Regions from separate parts of the Homo sapiens genome. Here region 1 is linked to region 2. Evidence: promoter capture Hi-C in 16 types of primary human blood cells and fetal thymus (Javierre and others, 2016). All regions are on one chromosome and are shown on one strand. The core of a region is centred on a gene start or on the middle of the fragment in contact, and the rest is flanking DNA. Distances in the headings are between cores, read along the strand shown.

Region 1 (2,569 bases), core at 1-2,500, about 11 Mb before region 2:
GACAAAGCCAGACTCCATCTCAAAAACATAAACAAAATAGAAAGGAAGCAAATTAAATTACGCTTTTGAAAGAAAGCAATTTATTAGAAGCCAAGAGAAAAGAAGTGATGTGATGAGAAGTGGAAAAGGACAAGAAGACAACAATGGACTAAGAAAGGAAAAGGACCATAATAAGCATAAGAAAGAAGAGGAATTGTGTGGTGGTCAGAAGAGATATTGTAGAAAGGAGGGAATGGCAGTCATGTGAAACGCGAAGCCGCCATCCCAGTCAATATGGGTGGGATGATGGGAACATTCCCCACATCCTAAAATATTCCCACAATGAGCTGGCTGTTCGAACATTATAAGGCTCTTTTCTGGTGTGTGTGCATGTTGCTTGTATAAGGCATATGCCCCCGACAGAAGTAATGTATTCAACTTTTAAGTCACTTAGTCTTTGAAGAAGCACTTTCAAAAGCGGATTTTTTTTTTTTTTTTTTTCCTGGAGGGAGGCTGACGGGACTAGAACTGAGGAAGAGTGTGGAAGTATGTCATAGCCATGGGCAACAGGTGCTGGCAATGTCAGAGATGAACTCTGCCTATTCACAATACTGTCAAAGTATAATTTTGAAAAAGCTAAAGCCATAATTCCCAGACAATTATCTAGACACTCTTACAAAGTGACGCTGTGTTAACTCGACTCATAAGAAATCAAATGTGTTAATGAAAAAAGAAAGGAACTATTTAGAGCTATTTCAGGCAGGGGGTGAGAAAACGGGGTAAAAGACAGGGGAAGAAAAGAGGGGGAAGAGGCGTTCCTGGAGGCGAGAGAGCCTGAGAAGGTGTGGGAAGCTTCGGGCTGGTGGGGGTGCATCGGGGAGCTGCCGCTGAAGTAACAGGGCTGGACGAGGGAGCCAGGGAGTACGGGGTGGGGGGGAAGACACACCTCCAAATTCAGCATTTCGGACTCTGAGGACTCCTCGGATCCCGCCTCGCCCTCGCCCTGGTCCTCATCTCCGTCCGAGTCCAGCTCCTGATAGCGGTGCATGAGCTGCTGGAGCAGGTAGGAGGAGGCTATGTTAGAGCTGCCTTTCGTCTTCTGCCCCATGGGAAAAGACCAGCAAGGCTGACGCTCTTTTTCTGCGCGAAACTGTAACGATCGGGCTCCAGTTCGGGATCTGCCCAAGCCTCTCAGGAGAGAGGCAGCTCTGGTCCTCAGGAGAGCCCTCTCGGAGGTCGCCATCTTGTTTAGCGGGGTTGCCTAGGAGACTGACCCCAGGCAAGGGGAACCGCGGAGGATTCTGGGGCCTGTAGTCTCCTCCGCGCGTACTCGCCTTCTGCAGGCGGGGCAGTGGGCGCTCCACTTGACTTTTCTTTTTCTCAGTCTCTTCTGTTATTTTTCTCTCTTTGGTCTGTTCTGTTCGCTTATCTTTCCTGTTTTCACCTCTTTTCGCTACACCCCCTTTCTTTGTCTCCAGCTGTTTCCTCCCTACCCTGAGACCCCTCTTAGAGCTTTGTCATCCCACGATAGGATCGCAGGTGCGCCACCGTTGCCGCTTCATTCCCAAAGGGCTCTTTCCGCAGAGTCGTACTTTAGAAGTGTCTAATGTCTCTAAAGCAGTCTGTAGGAAAGCTAGTACCACTGAAATTTATGCAAAGCGCGACGCTAGGAGATGAGGGTGCATATAAGTGAAATAGAAGGCATGGTTCCTGTCCTTATGATTTAATTGCAGATAATAAAGAGAAACTACCAGACGACGCCTGAGAGCTGATTTCCAATTAATTTACATTCCCCACCCCCACCCCCCAATGATAAGCCTTGTCCTTGGGGAGAAAAACTGGCAGTGGTCTTACAATCCAAACAGAGAGAGAAAAAACTGCTGTCAAATTGACACTGTATCTGAAAGCGTCTGAAAAGCTATTAGCATCCCATAAATAATTATATTAGTCAAGTGACCTGCATTGGCAATTATTTTAATCTTGTTGCACAGGCTCTCTTTGCAGTTAAAAAAAATACTCTTTCAAGATAACAAAGCACGATTTTATGCTAGTGTGATTTTATGTGACCCAAATCCCATAGCCTTAAGCTCCACAACGTCGACACTCTATAGAAAAGCAGAATGAAAATTATAGTAACTATTATTGCCATAGTGATGACAATAGAGATCCTTGCAGGGAAGTAGCCCTCATCCTTCTGGCCTTACAGGGCCTTTTCTGCACGCTTCAATGACAGCAGTTGCAAATACAAAATGATCCTGTCAATGGCTGTCAGGGGAGAAGGAGAAAAAATCCTTATGGACACCATCCATTGACGATTATCTTTCTCAGTGCTTGAGGGACCGTTAAAACTGACATAAAGCTTTCAGAATTACCTTCCTTCATTATCTTGCTAGTCATAAATGTAAAGGCCACAAGCAAAATATCTCTTTCTGCCAGGCTCATCTTGCTTTTTGCTTATTTCTTTTTCCAATAAGTAGAGATTCCTCCAAGGGAATTTTCCCCACCCTTACCCTCGTAGGGCCTGGCTTCGGCTAAGTGACATAGGGAAGAATCAGGCAGAAAGTGTAAAAATGCAAATCTCGATCGTTTT
Region 2 (5,240 bases), core at 2,659-5,158:
TTGTTTTAGAGAAAAGTAAATGAGAGGCTACCAGTTGTGTTTAGAGGAGGTCGACGTTTTATTTTAGACAAAATTCACAGGAAATCACAGTGGGAATGTGATAAGGGGTTTGAATGATTGATGGGGACAGGAAGAATTCATTTGAGAGACTAGAGATGAGTCAGTATTCTAGATCGTGAAGTAAAATAGTGAGTCATGTAGTGACTTAGCATGGGTTATCCTTAAATCCCAGTGTCTTAAGTGTATTTTTTATTCATACTGCATGTCTAAGGAGGGTTGGCAAGGAGTGCTCATAGACCCACAAGGAATCCAGGCTGAGTGTGGCACCATCAACATATATTTCCATGACCATAGTGGTGGTGGGGAATTGGAACATGGTAAATTACACATAGGAATAAAAAAAAAGAAACAACCAAGGTTAAATTTTTTTTTGACTGTGCCACAAAATTTATGAATTGAACTTGCCATGCATCACTAATAATTTTCAAATTGGTCTTTAGGTTTACATTAGCAGCTAATTTTTTGTGGTACACTTAAATGTAATTTATGATTGGCATCTGTATATAATTAAATGAAAAGCATTGCAAAGATTTCTATTTTGGTATTTCTCATGATCTTCAATTTTTTTTTAGGTGAATCTATTAGGTTTTCTAAAGATAACTATTTTTTTTTTTTTACAAAATATTGGCATTTTAATCTCTCTATAACTGGAGGGTGAATTATTTTTCACCAGAGTAAAACAGGTCCAAAGTCCCTTATCTAAATTCCTAATTTCAAAAATCTCTGAAAACAAAGTTTTTTCATAACTCATTTGGCAACAAACCCCACCTGAATTACATGAGGCTATTTGTGGTATTTATCGCACTTCAATGTGAATATGAATATATTTTGCCACAGATGTATCAATATATTTGATTCTAAACTGCTTCCTCAGACCCTCTTAATGTGTTACATAATGTAAAGTATATGCCCATATTTCCTTTCAAAAATCTGAAAAATTGTGAATATCAAACACATCTGTCTTAAAAGGTTTCAGAAAAGGGACAATAGACCTATATTTCCATTCTCTTAACAAGTTCACAAAGTGGTATTATGATCCAAATTTAATCTAAATAATTTCCAAAACAAAAATTTTCAGGTCCTTAGTTTTCTAAATTATTTTAATATTAAAAATATTCATTATTCATTTTAACCTGTAGTAACAACAGGAGATACTTTGAAATGCTTGATTTTATCAAGCCACTAGGTGGCATCTTTGTAAAAATAAAAGCACATCAAAAGAAATGTTTATTACATAAATAAATGCTGAGATGAATAAAGGTAGATGTTTCATGAGAAATACGAAGTCGTTTGGTGGAATAAATCCTGAGAAAATGCATAGATTTATCATGAAAAGGAAAATGGAAAATGGTATTGTAAAATTACTCTTTCACTTTTGGAATTGAGAAGCTTTTTCCTATTGGTTGTTTTCATTAAGTTTGAATATAAATTTATTATGTAACCAAACTACATTTGTGTGTATGTGCGTGTATGTGTGCGTGGACAGGATTTTGACATGCTAATAACTTTTCCATGCTCCACAGACTACCCAAGGAAGCCTAACTAAGTTAGGTTCCTATTTAAGATTAAATTGTATAAAGTCATCCTCACAGCAAACTACAAAAAAAAATGAATAGTGGCTATCAAGTCACATTTAACACTGTGAGACACTTAAGTTCTCTCCTACCAGTTTTTCTTCCCCCATCTCCTGACTCTATTCCTAAACCTACTGTTTGCATACCGTCTCTAACATTGAGAACAGTGAATGACAAATTTTAAAGAGGAGACCCAGCAAAGTGAATGTTTAAAACCAGTGGAATGTTTATTAGTAGCAGAATGTAAGATAAATTATGATTTTGGAGATGGGAGTGTATGAGTGTTTGTAAAATCTTATCTGCACACCTCCACACCTGGTCTACCCATCCAAGAAAGCCTAATTCTAGTGGTTACCTCTATGCCCATTTTTCCCCTTTACTTTTCATGAATGTGTGGAAATGATTAAAATGAATTTACTTTTACTGATCATTATTAAAACAAAGCCAATTTTATCTGAATATATATTTCACTATTCTAGTAAAAATATATTTTAAAATGGGATGACTGAAAAAAATGGCATTGGATATTACAAAGTTATTGGGGAGATGAGAGTGCAATTTCAGCAGAACAGTATAAAGAAATAAATGAAGACAATGAACATTTATGAATAAGGGAATGGACCTGTATTAATTTTATTAATCCTTTTAACATATCAAATCAAATTAAACAGTACTGTAATGGTTAAAAAATCTGGGACCTGGAGTTAGATTGCTTAGGTTTAATCCTGGTTCCCTCATTAAACTTTGTGTGCCTTAGTTTTCTCATTTACAAAATGGGTCTAATAGCAGTTTCTCCCTAATAAAATCGTTGTAAGGATTAAATTAGAAATCTATGTACGGTGCCTCATGACAATGAATACTTCATAAATGTTAGCTGCTATTATGAGATAGCAACATGTAGTTTGTTACTAAATTTCCAAGAGGAACATACTTGACTTGACCTCCAATACTATCCTGTGGTTCTTTAAAAGTTTTCTTATTCATTGATAGGCCGGGCGCGGTGGCTCACTCCTGTAATCCCCAACACTTTTGAAGGCGGATTGCTTGAGGCTAGGAGTTCCAGATCAGCCTGGCCAACATGGTGAAACCCCATCTCTACTAAAAATACCAAAATTAGCCGGGGGTGGTGGCGGGCGCCTGTAATCTCAGCTACTCAGGAGGCTGAGGCAGGAGAATCGCGGGAGCCAGGGAGGTAGAGGTTGCATTGAGCCGAGATCGAACCACTGCACTTCAACCTGGGCGACAGAGCAAGACTCTGTATACACTAGAAAAAAAAAAAAAAAAAAGAATTTGTTGTTAGACAAAATTTAGTTTATTAACTAATTTAGTGATTAACAAAAGTTCTTCTAAGCAGAATTATTTGATAGCTACTATCTCCCTTTTCTCTTTGGCTGCCAGGAAGCTGAGAGCCAAGTTGTTAGTTTAACAAAAGCAAGTAGGCACCTGACAGTTTCTCGCCTCTGACTTCATCGTGATGATTTCTCTGACTCGGATTTTTTTTATATCTGTAAAATTAAACTGCTGTCAGTGTTTGGTTTAGAGAGCTGTGCCGTTTCACAAGTGTAAAAGATCTTGGAGAGAAGTTAGTGTCCTGATTCACTTGGATCTAGGTAGCCAGTTGGTAACAGCCTCCGCCTCTGGCTCCTCCCCTTCTCCCTGCCGCGTCCCTCCTCCCCGCCCCTTCGCCTCTGGCCCCGCCCCTTCTCCCTGCCGCTTCCCTCCTCCACGCCCGCTCGCCTCTGACTCCTCCCCTTCTCCCTGACGCGTCCCTCTTCCTGTCTCTTCGCCTCTGGCTCCTCCCCTTTCTCCTGCCATGTTTCTTCTCCCCGCCCCCTCGCCTCTGGCTCCTCCCCCTTTTCCCTATCGCGTTCCTCCTTTGCAGCCCCCATCCCCCTCCTCTGGCTCCTCTTCTTCCCTACCGCGATCCTCCTTCCAGACCCCGGCCCCCAGCCCGCCTCTAGCTCCTTCCCTTATTTCCTGCCGCGCTCCTCCTTCCCGACACCGCCCCTCCGCCTCTGGCTACTCCTCTTCTCTCCTGCCGCACTCCTCCTTCCCGGCCCCACCTCCCCGCCTCTGGCTCATCCCCTTCTCTTCTGCCGCCCTCCTCCTTCCCGGCCCCGCCCCCAGTCTTTGGCTCCTCCCCCTACCCTGCCGCGCTCCTCCTTCCCGGCCCCTCCCCGCTGCCCTCTTCTGGCTCCTCCCCCCCACCCGCCTCTGGCTCCTCTCCTTCCCACCCCTGCCGTGCTCCGGCAGGAAGAGGTGGTGCCAGGGCCGTTGCTAGGATACGACCAACAGCTGAGAACGCGGCGAGTATGGAAGCTGCGTCTTAGGAGCCTGGGAAAGCACTTCGACGAGAATAGTTTGGTTTCGTACACAGGTAGGAGAACAGATTTTGACTGCGGCCTCCTGGTCCGACGCTTAGATCCAGCCTAGAGCCGGTGACAGCCGCGCTGGACTCTGGGTTCTGTGTGCTGGGCAGTGATTCCCACCTGAGCGCCTGGGGCTGCCTAGTCGGTCAGGAATGTTCCGACTTTACTTTAAAAACCGTGCGAAGCATCTCATCTTTCTCGGCTCCTTTTTTGGCTTCCCCTCTCTGATTTGGGACTTGAACCAGCAGCATCAAGCTAGGAGGTACACCTCACCTCACACCCTGGGTGCTTGTCACGGTAATTGCATAGAAGATGTGTGTATAACCCACACCTGGCACTAGAGACTCTTAGCCTTCCGTGGCCACCATTCTCATATTAAGTCGAGAGATTTTAGACTTTCCTCACCTGGCACTCTCACTCCTTCCTCTCCACCCTTGGTCTTTGCCTCTTAACAAACCTAAAAATTCAACAGATCTATTTGGTAGAAGGCAATACTGGATCCCTGCCTCACTAATTATACTACATTCTAAATGTGTTAAGCTTTAAATGGTAGGGAATGAAATGTAGGTGAAAAGGGAGACTTTTTTGTATGCAAACATGATAGAGGTTGCTTTTTAAACAATAAGATTTAAACATTTTCATTTGAATAGATAATACATAAAAAAATAGTTCGAATAGTAAAAAGAATGAAGAGTGAAAATCCTCCATCTACCCATTTCTCCCCATCTCCAGGCCACCTTCCACAGGTGTTTTAGACATACGCAAATATGTAGTTACACCTGTAACATTGTGCATACTCTTCTGTGATTGGCTTTTACACTTAAGACTGTGTGTCCAGTTGTTTTCTATCAATATTTACAGATCTGTCTCATTTATGCATTTATGGATGAATTTATGTATTTATGTTTCATTGTGAGAAGGTGTTTCGAAGCATGTCAGGAAATTTGGAAACTCTCATAAGCAAAAAGATTGATAAATGTCACTACCTAACAATCTAAAACTTTTATATAGTAAGAGAAAAACAACATCAAACATACAATGGGAAATATAAGGGCAACACACAACAAAGGGATATTTAATTATTAGGACTCATAAAACAATATGAGGATGTAAGGAAACAGTCAAGGGGAACTTCTTGGGGCTATAATAGAAAACAGTTTGATGGAATTTAACAAAATTAAGATCTGTATGCCCTTTGACTTGTCCATTCTAATTCTGGGAACTCATTTTCAGTATA

Evidence for each region. The method cuts DNA at HindIII sites, captures the fragments that hold promoters and counts their contacts. A CHiCAGO score of 5 or more calls a contact.
Region 1: a contact is called between the fragment with the promoter of LRGUK here and the fragment with the promoter of IQUB in region 2, in 2 of 17 cell types (non-activated CD4 T cells and activated CD4 T cells). The highest score is 6.1, in non-activated CD4 T cells.

Annotation. Positions count from the first base shown.
Region 1 is chr7:134,126,021-134,128,589 of GRCh38, reverse strand. It overlaps LRGUK (leucine rich repeats and guanylate kinase domain containing), which reads right to left and starts at 1,250. Exons shown (of 20, transcript NM_144648.3): 1 at 926-1,250. The coding sequence starts at 1,222. RefSeq lists enhancers at 968-1,237, 1,348-1,397. The HindIII fragment of the contact is 1,507 bases long and covers 834-2,340 here.
Region 2 is chr7:123,533,263-123,538,502 of GRCh38, reverse strand. IQUB (IQ motif and ubiquitin domain containing) reads left to right here and starts at 3,908. Exons shown (of 13, transcript NM_178827.5): 1 at 3,908-4,011. It overlaps LOC124901740 (a long non-coding RNA gene), which reads right to left and starts at 3,972. Exons shown (of 2, transcript XR_007060507.1): 1 at 3,078-3,972; 2 at 2,244-2,898. NDUFA5 (NADH:ubiquinone oxidoreductase subunit A5) reads left to right here. Exons shown (of 5, transcript NM_005000.5): 5 at 1-1,506. RefSeq lists an enhancer at 3,022-3,161 and silencers at 3,232-3,361, 3,442-3,591, 3,612-3,841. The HindIII fragment of the contact is 3,094 bases long and covers 1,452-4,545 here.